Regions from separate parts of the Homo sapiens genome. Here regions 1, 2 and 4 are each linked to region 3. The links are contacts of gene promoters, found by promoter capture Hi-C in blood cells and fetal thymus (Javierre and others, 2016). All regions are on one chromosome and are shown on one strand. The core of a region is centred on a gene start or on the middle of the fragment in contact, and the rest is flanking DNA. Distances in the headings are between cores, read along the strand shown.

The links. The method cuts DNA at HindIII sites, captures the fragments that hold promoters and counts their contacts. A CHiCAGO score of 5 or more calls a contact.
Region 1: a contact is called between a fragment that was not itself captured here and the fragment with the promoter of KLHL3 in region 3, in 1 of 17 cell types (naive B cells). The highest score is 6.4, in naive B cells.
Region 2: a fragment that was not itself captured here is called in contact with the fragment with the promoter of KLHL3 in region 3 in 5 of 17 cell types (naive CD8 T cells, activated CD4 T cells, non-activated CD4 T cells and 2 more); the score reaches 7.5 in naive CD8 T cells.
Region 4: a fragment that was not itself captured here is called in contact with the fragment with the promoter of KLHL3 in region 3 in 1 of 17 cell types (non-activated CD4 T cells); the score reaches 5.1 in non-activated CD4 T cells.

What each region holds. Positions count from the first base shown.
Region 1 is chr5:138,151,054-138,154,100 of GRCh38, reverse strand. It overlaps BRD8 (bromodomain containing 8), which reads left to right. Exons shown (of 27, transcript NM_139199.2): 21 at 1,341-1,619. Among named protein-coding and RNA genes, the nearest start is that of NME5, 13 kb to the right of the region's middle. The HindIII fragment of the contact is 1,764 bases long and covers 820-2,583 here.
Region 2 is chr5:138,040,000-138,043,405 of GRCh38, reverse strand. It overlaps a transcript of FAM13B not described here. Among named protein-coding and RNA genes, the nearest start is that of FAM13B, 8.6 kb to the right of the region's middle. The HindIII fragment of the contact is 5,363 bases long and covers 1-3,406 here.
Region 3 is chr5:137,734,747-137,737,834 of GRCh38, reverse strand. It overlaps KLHL3 (kelch like family member 3), which reads left to right and starts at 1,746. Exons shown (of 15, transcript NM_017415.3): 1 at 1,746-2,202. The coding sequence starts at 2,189. RefSeq lists an enhancer at 1,479-2,147. The HindIII fragment of the contact is 9,233 bases long and covers 1-3,088 here.
Region 4 is chr5:138,015,071-138,018,493 of GRCh38, reverse strand. It overlaps FAM13B (family with sequence similarity 13 member B), which reads left to right. Exons shown (of 24, transcript NM_001385994.1): 4 at 1-192. Among named protein-coding and RNA genes, the nearest start is that of FAM13B-AS1, 16 kb to the left of the region's middle. The HindIII fragment of the contact is 4,772 bases long and covers 1-3,423 here.

The DNA of each region.
Region 1 (3,047 bases), core at 452-2,951, 420 kb before region 3:
AAAGGATGGACACTGAGAAAACTTATTGTGGGAGAAAACTGGGAAGAGGACTTGCTTACTGAATATAAGAGAAGGAAGGGTCAAAACAGAATTGTGGGTTCTGTAGACTAAGAAAATGGTGATGGGGTCGGGTGTGGTGGCTCACGCCTGTAATCCCAGCACTTTGGGAGGCAAAGGTGGGTGGATCCCCTGAGGTCAGAAGTTCAAGACCAGCCTAGTCAACATGGTGAAACCCCGTCTCTATAAATATACAAAAATTAGCCGGGCATGGTGGTGGGCACCTGTAATCTCAGCTACTCAGGAGGCTGAGGCAGGAGAATTGCTTGAACCCAGGAAGCAGAGGTTGCAGTGAGCCGAGATTGGGCCATTGTGCTCCAGCCTGGGCAACAAGAGTGAAAGTTCGTTCAAAAAAAAAAAAAAAAAAAAAGAAAAGAAAAGAAAATGGTGATGGGGATAAGGAAATTGGGAAGAAGCAGTGATTTTGGAGATAAAGGAAATGTGATTTTTATTTTAGAAATGTTACAGCAGGTGGTAGAGCATCTAAAGGGAATTGACTTTTGGATGCATGGAGAAATGACACCAGAATTCATATAAGAAGTAAAGGTAGAGAGATTTGGGAGCCACCTGAATAGAGGTCAAAGTTGAAACCTCAAAGTATATATACATTTTTTTAAAATACATTAATAAGAAAGCAGAGGACCAAGCATGAACATAGAAGGTAGGGATTTATTGAAAGTTGTAAAAGGGAGAGGACAAAGAAAGATATAAAAAAACCAAGATAGTGGTGTAATGAGAGCAAGGGAAGATATATTTTAAGCTTAATGTTTCTCAACATCAATTTGGATATGACCAGAAGGATGCCAAAGGCAATCCTAAAGTGTGTTTTGAAGGTTTAATGGTTCATAGGTTAAAAATGTTTATACACTGAGGAAAATATCCCCTGCCCCCTCAATTTGTTTGCCTTACGGTTTAGTTATGGATGATTTGGGCTAGAGGAAAATAATTGAGCTAGCTATGCTCCAGTTCTTTCCCTTCTTTTGGTGTGAATATGAGGAATTCCAAGTAAAAATAATTATTAGGTAATATTAATGTCTCTATTATACTGTATTGTATGGTGCAATATCTCTGTTATACTGACATGGGGCTTTCTTTATTCCCAAAGACAAATATAATTTCATCTCATGTCTCCCTTCAGCAAGATTTTAATTCTTCCTAATGATGAATACTTGAATACAAATAAATTTCTGGCCCCTTATTTTTCTACTGAACTCGGGAGATGGAGATGCCTCAGGAATATTTATTTGAATGAATTTAATGCATGTTTTCCTGTGTATTTACAGATGGGACACGAGTGGGTTTGGCTGGATTCTGAACAAGATCATCCCAATGACTCTGAGTTGAGCAATGACTGCAGGTCCCTCTTCAGCTCATGGGACTCCAGTCTGGATCTTGATGTGGGCAACTGGAGGGAAACTGAGGATCCAGAGGCTGAGGAACTAGAGGAAAGCAGCCCGGAGAGAGAACCTAGTGAACTGCTTGTTGGGGATGGAGGCAGTGAGGAATCTCAGGAAGCGGCAAGGAAAGCCAGCCACCAGAACCTCCTCCACTTTCTCTCTGAGGTAACAGTGAGCTCTTATTTCCAAAGCTGGAAAAGCCTCAACTTTCTAAGAGAATGCTTATCCTTACATGCTTCTACCACTCTTAATATTGTTTACTAAAATATAAGCTCCACAGTGGCAGGGATTAAGTTCATTGCTATGTCCTCAGCACTTGGTGCTGATACAGAATATGCACCAAATACATGCTTTTTGGGCCGGGTGCAGTGGCTCACGCCTGTAATCCCAGCACTTTGGGAGGCTGAGGCCAGTGGATCACTTGAGGTTGGGAGTTCGAGACCAGCCTGGCCAACATGGTGAAACCCCATCTCTACTAAAAATACAAAAATGGCCGGGCGCAGTGGCTCATGCCTGTAATCCCAGCACTTTAGGAGGCCGAGGCGGGCGGATCACTTGAGGTCAGGAGTTCAAGACCAGCCTGGCCAACATGGTGAAACCCCATCTCTACTAAAAATACAAAAAATTAGCCGGGCGTGGTGGCGGGCGCCTGTAATCCCAGCTGCTCGGGAGGCTGAGGCAGGAGAATCACTTGAACCTGAGAGGCGGAGGTTGCAGTGAGCTGAGATCACACCATTGCACTCCAGCCTGGGCGACAGAGCGAAACTCTGTCTCTAAATAAATAAATTAATTAAAATTAAAATTAAAATTAAAAAATTAGCCGGGCTTGGTGGCATGTGCCTGTAATCCCAGCTACCTGGGAGGCTGAGGCAGGAGAATCGCTTGAACCCGGGAGGCGGAAGTTGCAGTGAGCTGAGATCGTGCCATTGGACTCCAGCCTAGGTAACAGAGCGAGACTCCGTCTCAAAAGTAAAAAAATTAAAAATAAAAAAATACATGCTTTTTGACTGAATTTCTAATACTTCAGTCATTAGGGGCCTGGGTCATAAGGACTGCTTTATGAGTATCCTTGTAATTCATGCTTTTGGAGTTGTGGGAAGTTATACTTGCCCAAATTTTCCTTGAAGCTTAAAATGCTGTAACTTTAAGGTAGTATTTTTAAGTGTCATTACCTTGGTTAAGGGCTGAGGACCAGAAATAAACAGAATTGGACAGAGAGTTATATGTATGCTGTTATTGAACACATTTAGAAGACCCTAGATCAAGATCAGCAAGCATCCATTTCAAATGTTGCCACTTCTCTCTACAAGTGTCTGTGGTAGACAAAATTTTCAACACTTTATTCTAGACAGCCACTCCCAATTGATCAGAGTTGACAGCTGAGATGAAAAAGTAGAACATAAACTCCTGGAAGAGGCAAGAACCATATCTTTCTTGTTCACTGTAGTGTCCCCACCAACCAGCCCAGTGCCTGTGTATATAAGATATTTTGGCAGATTTTAGATGATTGTATTAATTAAACCATTTTGTCCTCTCAGACTTAGTCACTGTGACAGTGTTAGCATGTGGCATTGTTGATATGTGGATGATGAT
Region 2 (3,406 bases), core at 590-3,089, 310 kb before region 3:
AAACACAGGTCAATAATTTATTCTTATTTATTATTTATTTTTTGAGACAGGGTCTCTCTCTGTCATCCAGGGTGGAGTGCAGTGGCACAATCATGGATCACTGCAGCTTTGACCTGGCCTCAAGCAATCCTCCCACCTCAGCCTCCTGAGTAGCTGGGACTACAAGTGTGTTACCATGCCTGGCTAATTTTTAATTTTATTTTTTATAGAGACAGGGTCTCACTATGGTGCTCAGGCTGGTCTCCAATTCCTGGCCTCAAGTGATTCTTGCTGGCCTGGTCAATTTCTTCTTTTGTTGTTGTTCTTTTTTATTTGAGATGGAGTCTGGCTCTGTTGCCCAGGCTGGGATGAAGTGGCACGATCTCAGCTCACTGTAACCTCCACTTCCTGGGTTCGAGTGATTCTTCTGCCTCAGCCTCCCGAGTAGCTGGGACTACAGGCATGCGCCACCACACCCGGCTACTTTTTGTATTTTTAGTAGAAACAGGGTTTCACCATGTTAGCCAGGCTGGTCTTGAACTCCTGGCTTCAGGTGGTCCACCCTCCTCAGCCTCCCAAAGTGCTGGGATTATAGGCATGACCCACCGCGCCTGGCCCCTGGTCAATTTAATACAAAGCAAACACCCATGTAACCACCACAGCTCATATCAAGAATAAGAGCATTCTTATTTTTGTGTCTCCACGAACTCTTGCCCCTCGTTCCCAGAAGAACCAGAACCAGTATCATGATGTCTATGATAGTCACTTCCTGGCTTTTTTTTTTTTTCTTTTAAGTTTTTCCCCTAATTTGTATCCCTAAACATGATGATTTAGTTTTGCTTTTTTTGGGAAACACTGTTATATTTAATTTCAATTAAAGAAAAAACTTAAAAACTTAAGGAGCTAGTTTTTATTTTTAAACTTTTTGAAATATAAAATACATATGGAGAAGTATACAGATCATGAGTACAGCTCACTGAATTGTCCCTAGGTGAACATATATGTGCAACTTCCCCCTAGGTTAAGAAATGGAATATCTTCTCATGACCCCTCCTTATTATTGATTTCTTCCTTCCTCAAAAAGACTTCCCTCCTTAACCACAATTCTGACTTCTAAAATGATAGTTTAGTTTTCCCTGCTTTTGAACTGTTTTTAACGGATTCATACAGTATTTGTTTGTGTCTGGCTTCTTTCATTTATTTTTGTGATTCATCACATTGTTGTTTGTAGCTGTAGTTTGTTCATTTTCATTGTTTACATGGTATGAAGATACCATACTGTATTAATCATTCATCATTCTATCATTGCTATCTACCTGAGCTTGAGTTTCCATTTTTTTCACCAATATAAAAAATGCAGCTATGAACTTCAGGGTCTTCCCCTGTTGTGCAGGCTGGAGTGCAGTGGTGCAGTCATAGTTCACTGTAACCTTGAACTTCCGGGCTCAAAAAATCCTCCTGCCTCAGCCTCCTGACTAGCTGGGATTACAGGTGCAAACCACTGTGCCTGGCTATTAATATTTTTTTTTTTTTTGAGACAGGGTCTTGCTCTGCCACCCAGGCTGGAGTGCGGTGGTGCTTACTGCAGGCTTGAATTACCAGGTTCAGGTGATTCTCCTGTCTCAGTACCACCCCCCACCCCCAATTTTTTTTTTTGAGATGGGGTCTTGCTATGTTGCCCAGGCTGGTTTCAAACTCCTGGCCTTAAGCAATCCTCCTGCCTTGGCCTCCCAAAGTGCTGGGATTATGGGTGTGAACCACCATGCCCAGCTCTTTGACTTTTAATTAGGAATTAATATATTTACACTGATTGTAATTACTCATATTTGAATTTATTTCTGCTATCTAATGTTTTACTATTTGTCCTCCTTAAACATTTTTTATCCATTTTTAAAATTAAGATCTTCCTATTTTATTTTATCCCCCTAATAAACTGGAAGTTATATATACTGTTTAATTTCTTGTACTGATTATGTAGAAATTTTAACATGTATATTTAACTCAACAAATTATAGACTTATTTAGCCTCCTCTTAAACAATACAAAGCCTTCTAATACTTTAATTTACCCTCTCACAATAGTATATGTTAAATTATTGAACAATAGTAGAATTTAGATATTGTTGCCATTATTTTGGATAGTGTTTAGATTTACAGCAAACATGCAAACAATTTTCTTTGTTCACCATTACTTCTCGCATTTTGGATCTTCCTTCTGGAAGATGGTAATTTTCTCTTAACATTTTGAAGATACGCTGCAGTATCATTTGGCTTCTATTGTTACTATTGAAAGGTCAGCTGTCAGCCAAATTATCTTTTCTTTGAAGATTAGTGTCTTTTCTTTTCTTTTTTTTTTTTTTTTTTGAGATGGAGTCTTGCTCTGTTGCCTAGGCTGGAGTGCAGTGGCGCAATCTCAGCTCACTGCAACCTCTGCCTCCCAGGTTCAAGTGATTCTCCTGCCTTAGCCTCTCGAGTAGCTGGGATTACAGGCGTGTGCCACCACACCCAGCTAATTTTTGTAATTTTAGTAGAGGCAGGGTTTTGCCATGTTGGTCAGGCTGGTCTCGAACTCCTGACCTCAGGCAATCTGCTCATGTTGGCCTCCCAGAGTGCTGGGATTACAGGCGTGAGCCACTGTGCCCGGCCTAATGTCTTTTCTTGCTGCCTAATTTTAAGATCCCCTTTCTCTCTGGGTACTAAATTTTATGTGTGCATTTTATACTTTTCAGCATGGCAAGTTTTGGTCTTCCAGAATTTAGGATATTTACCTTCAATTCTGGAAAATGTTCAGCCACTATTTCTTTGAATATTGTCTTCCCTCCATTCTATTATCTCCTTCTTTTTTGTTTGTTTTGTTTTTGAGACGGTGTCTACGTCGCCCAGGCTGGAGTGCAGTGGCGCGATCTCGGCTCACGGTAATCTCCGCCTCCCAGATTCAAGCAATTCTCCTGCCTCAGCCTCCTGAGTAGCTGGGATCACAGGCATGCACCACCATGCCGAGCTAATTTTTTTTAATATTTTTAGTAGAGACAGCGTTTCACCATATTGGCCAGGCTGGTCTGGAATTCCTGACCTTGTGATCGGCCCGCCTCGGCCTCCCAAAGTGCTGGGATTACAGGCTTGAGCCACCGTGCCCGGCCTTTTTTTTTTTTTTTTTTTTTTTTTGAGACAGAGTCTTGCTCTGTCGCCAGGCTGAAGTGCAGTGGTGCAATCTCGGCTCACTGCAACCTCTGCCTCCTGGGTTCAAATGATTCTCCTGCCTCAGCCTCCCCAGTAGCTGGGATTACAGGCATGCGCCACTACGCCTAGCTAACTTTGTATTTTTAGTAGAGATGGGGTTTCACTATGTTGGTCAGGCTGGTCTTGAACTCCTGACCTCGTGATCCGCCTTCCTCGGCCTCCCAAAGTGCTGGGATTACAGGCTTGAA
Region 3 (3,088 bases), core at 497-2,996:
TATGAATCACCCAGTTGTGTTCCTGGTGGATGTCTGAACTCTGGCACGGATTCCGAGATTCAGTTTCCTTATTTGTGATGTTCAGCTTTTTGTGGTCCCTGTGATTGGCCTCAAGAGGAAATATCTGGAGCAGGGCCACAAGGCTGATTAGAGGAGGAAGGGACATAGAGGGAACAAGATATGAGGGGTATTGTTGTGCAAGGAAGAAGTGAAGATACAGCCCTGTGGGGTGTAAATGAAATTATCCAGGCCTCTTCTCACTTGAGAAAGAGTGAGTGTGAGTAATGGCCTTGTCTAAGAGAACACTGAGGTGCCAGGGGAGGTAATCTTTGAGAATAACCCTGTAGCCAGTTTGAGTTCAGGAGGCTATATAAAGTTTTAGTTACTTTTACTTTCTGTCACCTCAGTGTTCCTCTCTTCCTTCTGTGGTTTTAGGGCTTTGTAGTAGTGAAGAAATTTAACAGGTTAAAATGATAAGGATGATAGATTTACTGAGCGTCTCTTCGTACTTTCACCTACATCATGTTATCCTCCTTGAAGCCCCCTACAACACATTGGAGCCTAGTATTTCTTCTTAAACAATCACACGGATTACTCTGAGAAGAAAAACGGACCATTTAAAACATTTTTAGAATCCTGTGATCTTGGAGCTGAAAGGGACTCTAAAGATTGTCTGGTCTGACCCTATATTGTGAATGAGTAGCTGAGCATGAGGTCCAGAGTGTGGAGAACACTACTCAGGAAAGTCACTCACCCAGTGAGTGCTGGTGTGGATTCGGAAAAGCCCAGGGGTGCCATGAGGTGTCCCAGAAGAGAGATGCTCATAGCTGATTTTTTTCTGAGGCATTAGGATAGCTTCTGCACCACTTTTTGCAGCTAATTGTCCCAGTTACCTCTAAGCCTCTGTGGCTAGGATATACAGACTGGCCTCATGCCTTCCACAAGATTATGTTTTAGTTTGGGAAAGAAGATTTATAAATAATGAATTAGCCAAGACTGTATATTAGGTGTGAGATGACGATACAGGAAAGTATAGTTTGTGTATTTTGGTGGTGATTGACTGTCATTGGTGTGATTAGGGAAGGTTTTATGAAGACATGGGATTTGACTGGACTCCCAGAAAGACTAAAGGACTGGGATTGGAGAAGGCATTTCAGGCAGGGAGAGTTAAATTAGTCTAAATTGAAGCTCAGCAGCTGGAGATTACAGGATGTGAAAGATCTTTGGCTGGATATGGGGGTTCAGTGGGAGACTTACTAGTTGGAGCCACTGCTTAAGTTAAATTCCAATATGACAGATTTTAGGAAGATATTTTAGGATTGTGCTAAGATATTTTAGTATTCATTGTGATAGCTTTACTGCAGTAGTCTTTGGCCTCTTGCAGTAAAATAGGGTTTGTTTCAGTTTCACCTATTTGTACTACCTCTCTTTTTCGACTAGTTTTCCAATTTCTCTCTGTATTCTCTTAATTTCTCTCTGTGTTTTTCTCACTTCTGTCAGGTGCTTTTCCCTTAACTTCTCCCCATCTATCAGACACTCAGAGCTACTACAGAATTTGGGAGGAGGATTTGGAACATAAACTGTGACCTACAAGTGAATTTCCCCAGGTGGATGATAAACTCCACTGCAGGCCACAGAGGGGCCTCCTCATTCCAGCAATCTGGCCAGGCTGACAGACTCATAGCCTATGGGAGCAGGGGAGGGTGTAGGGGCCAGTATTTCTCGGGCTAGTGACGAACTGCCTGATTCTTTGCAGCCTAGACAGAGGAGGCAGGAGCCCCAGGGGCGGGCTAATCGCCTGGGCTGGGGATGCCTGGGCAGATGCAGAGGAAGCTGGAAAGGTGGCAGTGCACCTGGGTCGCTGGAGCTGCCGCCGTTCCTAGGAGACCAAGGAGCAGCAAGCCTGCGGGGGAGGGGGAGCAAGTGGGTTGCTGCTTTTAGCAGCTGAAAGGGCTGCAGGGAGCTCTGGGTAAGACATTTTCTGTTGCTGCTGCTTTTGCGGTAGAAGCTGCTGCGAGTAAGTCAGAGGAAGGAGGATTGAGAAGGGAGGAGGCTTCACTTGCAGCCATGCTGAATCACTGTTGCTGATCAGATTTCCCACTGGTCTGCTGGGAGAATCAAGAACAGAACTAGGATCCCCGAGTGCATACACAGTTCAGCAGCTACCACCCTGGCTGGGCCTCACACAATGGAGGGTGAAAGGTATGTATGTATAAGTGTGTGCTGTGTTGTGTGTGTATGTAAGTGTATGTGTGCTTGCGGTGCAGCCACCAGCTTTTGTGTTTGCATTGGCTAGGCAGAGTTGGAAGACCTGGCCACTGATGGATCTTAAAGGGCGCCAGAACAAGAGCAGGAAAGCCGCTTTCCAAATCACCCGTTCCAGGGCTTGAATCTCCAGAGATCTGGCTTCCGCAAAGGCAGGTCTGGGTTTGCTAGGCAGCGGAGCACCCTGAAAGAAGGGACTTCCTGGCTGGTGTTCGGGAATAGTTTCAGCACAGGCTGAATCAGATTGCCTTTCTCAGGCTGTTTCAAGGAGGCGTTTCCCTTTCCTGGCTCCTTTCCCGGGGTGTTTTTTCTTTGGTGGGGGGTTTTTGATGTCATAGTGGGGCTGACCTGACATAGTGTACTTGCATTTTCACGCAGGAGTGCTTGAATCTTCAGCAAGCATGCCATGCTGATGGCTGTGTGTGTGCGCGCGTGCACGCCGTGTATGCCTGTATACACACACATTCAGGGATGAAGGAGAGAAACCCAGTCAGATGATACTTGCTCTGAACTGAGTTTCATATTTGTATTGAAAAGTTTATGAGTGATACTGGAAGGTCTGTGCTTCCTCCATCAGGGATTTCTTTTGAAATAGGAACCAGCAGAAAAGATTTTAAGTACTTTTGTTGAGCTGGATCTAACTAGCGAGGCAGTTAGATCCTGGCAGGCACACACATCTAAATTTTTAAATTGTTATCTGAAGATCTGAATCTTTCATTGTGAAGGTGCTCAGCGCAGTGCAGAGGTGACATTCCTCTGTCTATGAAGTAAAATATCTCTTGAGTGCCAACCTCTTCATTCTTTGGTCTGCAGTTGGTAGAGT
Region 4 (3,423 bases), core at 151-2,650, 280 kb before region 3:
TTTTTCAAGTCAATGGAAATGCTGAGACAGTGGAGTGGCTTCGGCAGAGATACGACAGCGGAGAAGAGGTGGATTTGGTTAAGGAAGCAGATGTTCCCTCAGCTATTAGCCTTCTTAGATTTTTTCTTCAAGAACTTCCTGAACCTGTTATCCCTGGCAGTTTACATATTCACTTGATGCAGCTTTCTCAAGGTAACATAATTTGATACTTATCAATTGGTCATTTGTTGTTAATTTCCTAGTCTTTACCTTTTAGAAATCTTGACATGTAAACAGTAAGTATAGTATTTTAGAGATTAATTTGTTATTTTCTCATTTGCTTTTTGGGGTTGTATGATCTTGTCATAGGAAAGGCAACTTCCGGGATCCCTCTAGTACTATTTACTTTTTGTGATTGGTTTTATTAGCCTAAGAAACAGGGTGAAGAAGAGGAAAGGGAGGAGACAAGAACAAGGAGTAGGAGGGGTCATCAAAAAGAAAGAAGAGAAATTTATGTAAGGTAATGTGTGTGGTGGCACAATGTCCAATAGTAGCCAAAGGTGTTGCTTAGTGGTGATATTACCACTATTAGGGTTACTTATCCCTGGTTTGATAGAATTTCCTAGCAAAAGGAAGAAGACAACTTTGATTCTAGGCTTTGAATATACCTAAAACTTGTTCTTGAACACTTAGCTAAAGGAAATGAATATCAAATTGAACATTAGACTCTAAGCTAAAGAAACAAAAAAAGATGTATCTTTGTTAGGTTTTTTTGGTGGTGACTAAAAAGTAGTGCTTAGCTAGAGTGGAACAGGAACAGGAAAAATAATGGTAGAGGCAGCAGAAAGGTCAAAGAACCAAGAAGTGAGGAAATGCTTCTGTTCCTAGAGCCAAATGGTATTCATGTATATGTAATGGAGGGACATGCTTCATTATATAGGAAAATGTGTAAAGTTGGCATATAGAGTTATATATTTCTTGAATTTTAAAATTACCCTTTCAGGCTTTTTTGGTATTATGGAGTTCATTTATTTTTTGAATCGGGGCTTCTAAAGAAATTCAGTTATGCTAAGAAATTATAACTACTTCCTTTATGCCTATCTCTATCACAGCTGGGCATTCTATAATATGTGTGTATATATCCTTAAGTATTATGTTGTCAGAGAAGGTATATTTTCTTTCGAAAGTGTTTATCCGTCTTTTTCTTAAATTTTAAACTGTGAGCCTAAGTTAGTTGGATGTCTTTGATTTATGTATAAAGGTCAATGCAAAGACGTTCTGTGACCCTCTTACACATGTTTTCTGTACAGCTAAATCATAAGGCTTACTTTGAACTTGCTATATTCAGGAAGGGGTAACCTGATTCAGTTCTGTTCTTTTACTCTATAATCTGGATCAAAAAACAGGTTTTAAAACGAAATGTTATTAGTAAGGCTACCCTTTTTTCAATGCATCACTTTAATTTTTCTCCCCCCAAAATTACGCTTTTTTGTTTTGAATTTTTGAATCCATTTTATTATTACAGGAATTTTTTCAAATGTTTATGTTGAGACACATAATAAGCATTTTGCATTTATTAAATATGAACCGAAACCAATATGGTAAAGGTTTTTTGAGCCTTTTAAAATAACTCTAGAGCCATTCTCTTTATAGTGATAGGTTTCCATGTTCCCTCTGTTAGCTGAATTGCAGACACATATTTAAAGTTCCAAGAGTCAGATAATCTTTCAGTCCTGAATGAAAATTTATAAATTAATAATTGCAGTGAGATTTAATGGAAGCAAAGTCATTGACTCACTGGTAGAATCTATCAGAAGCTATTTATTTTTCACTAGGATTGTCATTTCAGTTGGTTTTCATTTATTCGTTGTTGTTGTTTTTTTGAAATGTCCTTGCTCTGTCGCCCAGGCTGGAGTGCAGTGGTGTGATCCTAGTTCACTACAGTCTTGATCTCCAGGGCTCAAGTGATCCTCTCGCCTCAGCCTCTTGAGTAGCTGGGACTACAGGCGCGCACCACCATGCCTGGCTAATTTTTTAAAATTTTTTATGTTTTGTAGAGACAAGATCTTGCTATGTTGCCCAAGCAGGTCTTGAACTCCTGAGCTCAAGTGATCCTCCTGTCTCAGTTTCCCAAACTGTCTCAGTTTCCCAAAGCACTGGGATTATAGGAGTGAGCCATTGTACCTGGCCTGGTTTTCATTTAAAATTATGACAGCATCATGTACTGTTGGGACAACTAAGTTCCTCTTCAAAGACACAACTTTCTGGTCATAAATTGTAAACCAATCCTACCCCTTCTTTTCTTTCAAAAATTGCGCATTTACCCTATTTGAAAAAGTTTCAGTCTTAGCCATGGCCTGGTTTTCATTTAAAATTATGACAGCACCATGTACTGTGTTGATATTCATGGAATTACAATACGCATCTTGTTACTTATTCTTATGCTAACATTCACTTGTGAAGGAATTTAAGATATGCAAAAATTTGCAAAAGAGATGTGCAAAAAAAAGCAAAAATGCTTATGGTCAATAAGTGCTTTCATGTTTAATATGAGAAATTCACTGTTTTCTTCTATTTTCCACTTATACATAGATAATCATTAGCATGTGTATGTATGTGTGCACATATACACCCGTTTCTTTAATAGCTGTGCAGCTAGGTATGGTAGTATTTGGGGTGATATTTGCATTTATGTTGTAATATCATCTGATCATTCATTCATTTAGTTATTTTGGGAAGGTGTCTAGATCTCTGAACAAAGTTTCCTCTCTTCATTTACTGTAGATAATTTTGTTTGTTTCTTTTATTCTTTGAGACAGAGTCTTGCTCTGTCACCCAGGCTGGAGTGCAGTGGGACCATCTTGGCCCACTGCAACCTCTGCCTCCCAGGTTCAAGTGATTCTCATGCTTCAGCCTCCTGAGTAGCAGGGACTACAGGTGTGTGCTACCATACCCAGCTACTTTTTGTATTTTTAGTAGAGATGGGGTTTCACCATGTTGGCCAGGCTGATCTCGAACTCCTGACCTCAAGTGATCTGCCCACCTTGGCCTCCCAGAGTGCTGGAATTACAGGCATGAGCCATGGCACCCAGCTGTAGATAAATAATATGATAATATTTTAATATTCACAAATACATGACAGTTAATTGCTTTTAAGATCATGGAAGAAGCACTGTTGCAGTTGCATTTCAGCTTTTGTTTTTAAAAAGTGGTTTCATTTTTCTGTGGTAGCTGGACAGTGCATCCACTGGTGTGGTTAAACCTTTTATTTAGACTAGGGTTTCACAGCCTTGGTACTGTTGATTTTGGGCTTGATAATTTTTTGTGATGGGGAGTTGTGTACCTTAGGATGTTTAGCAGCATCCCTGACCTCTACCAAAGGCACTGTCTTCCCCAAAGTCATGACAACCGTTCATTGTCAGATGTTGACAACTTCTGGGTTAG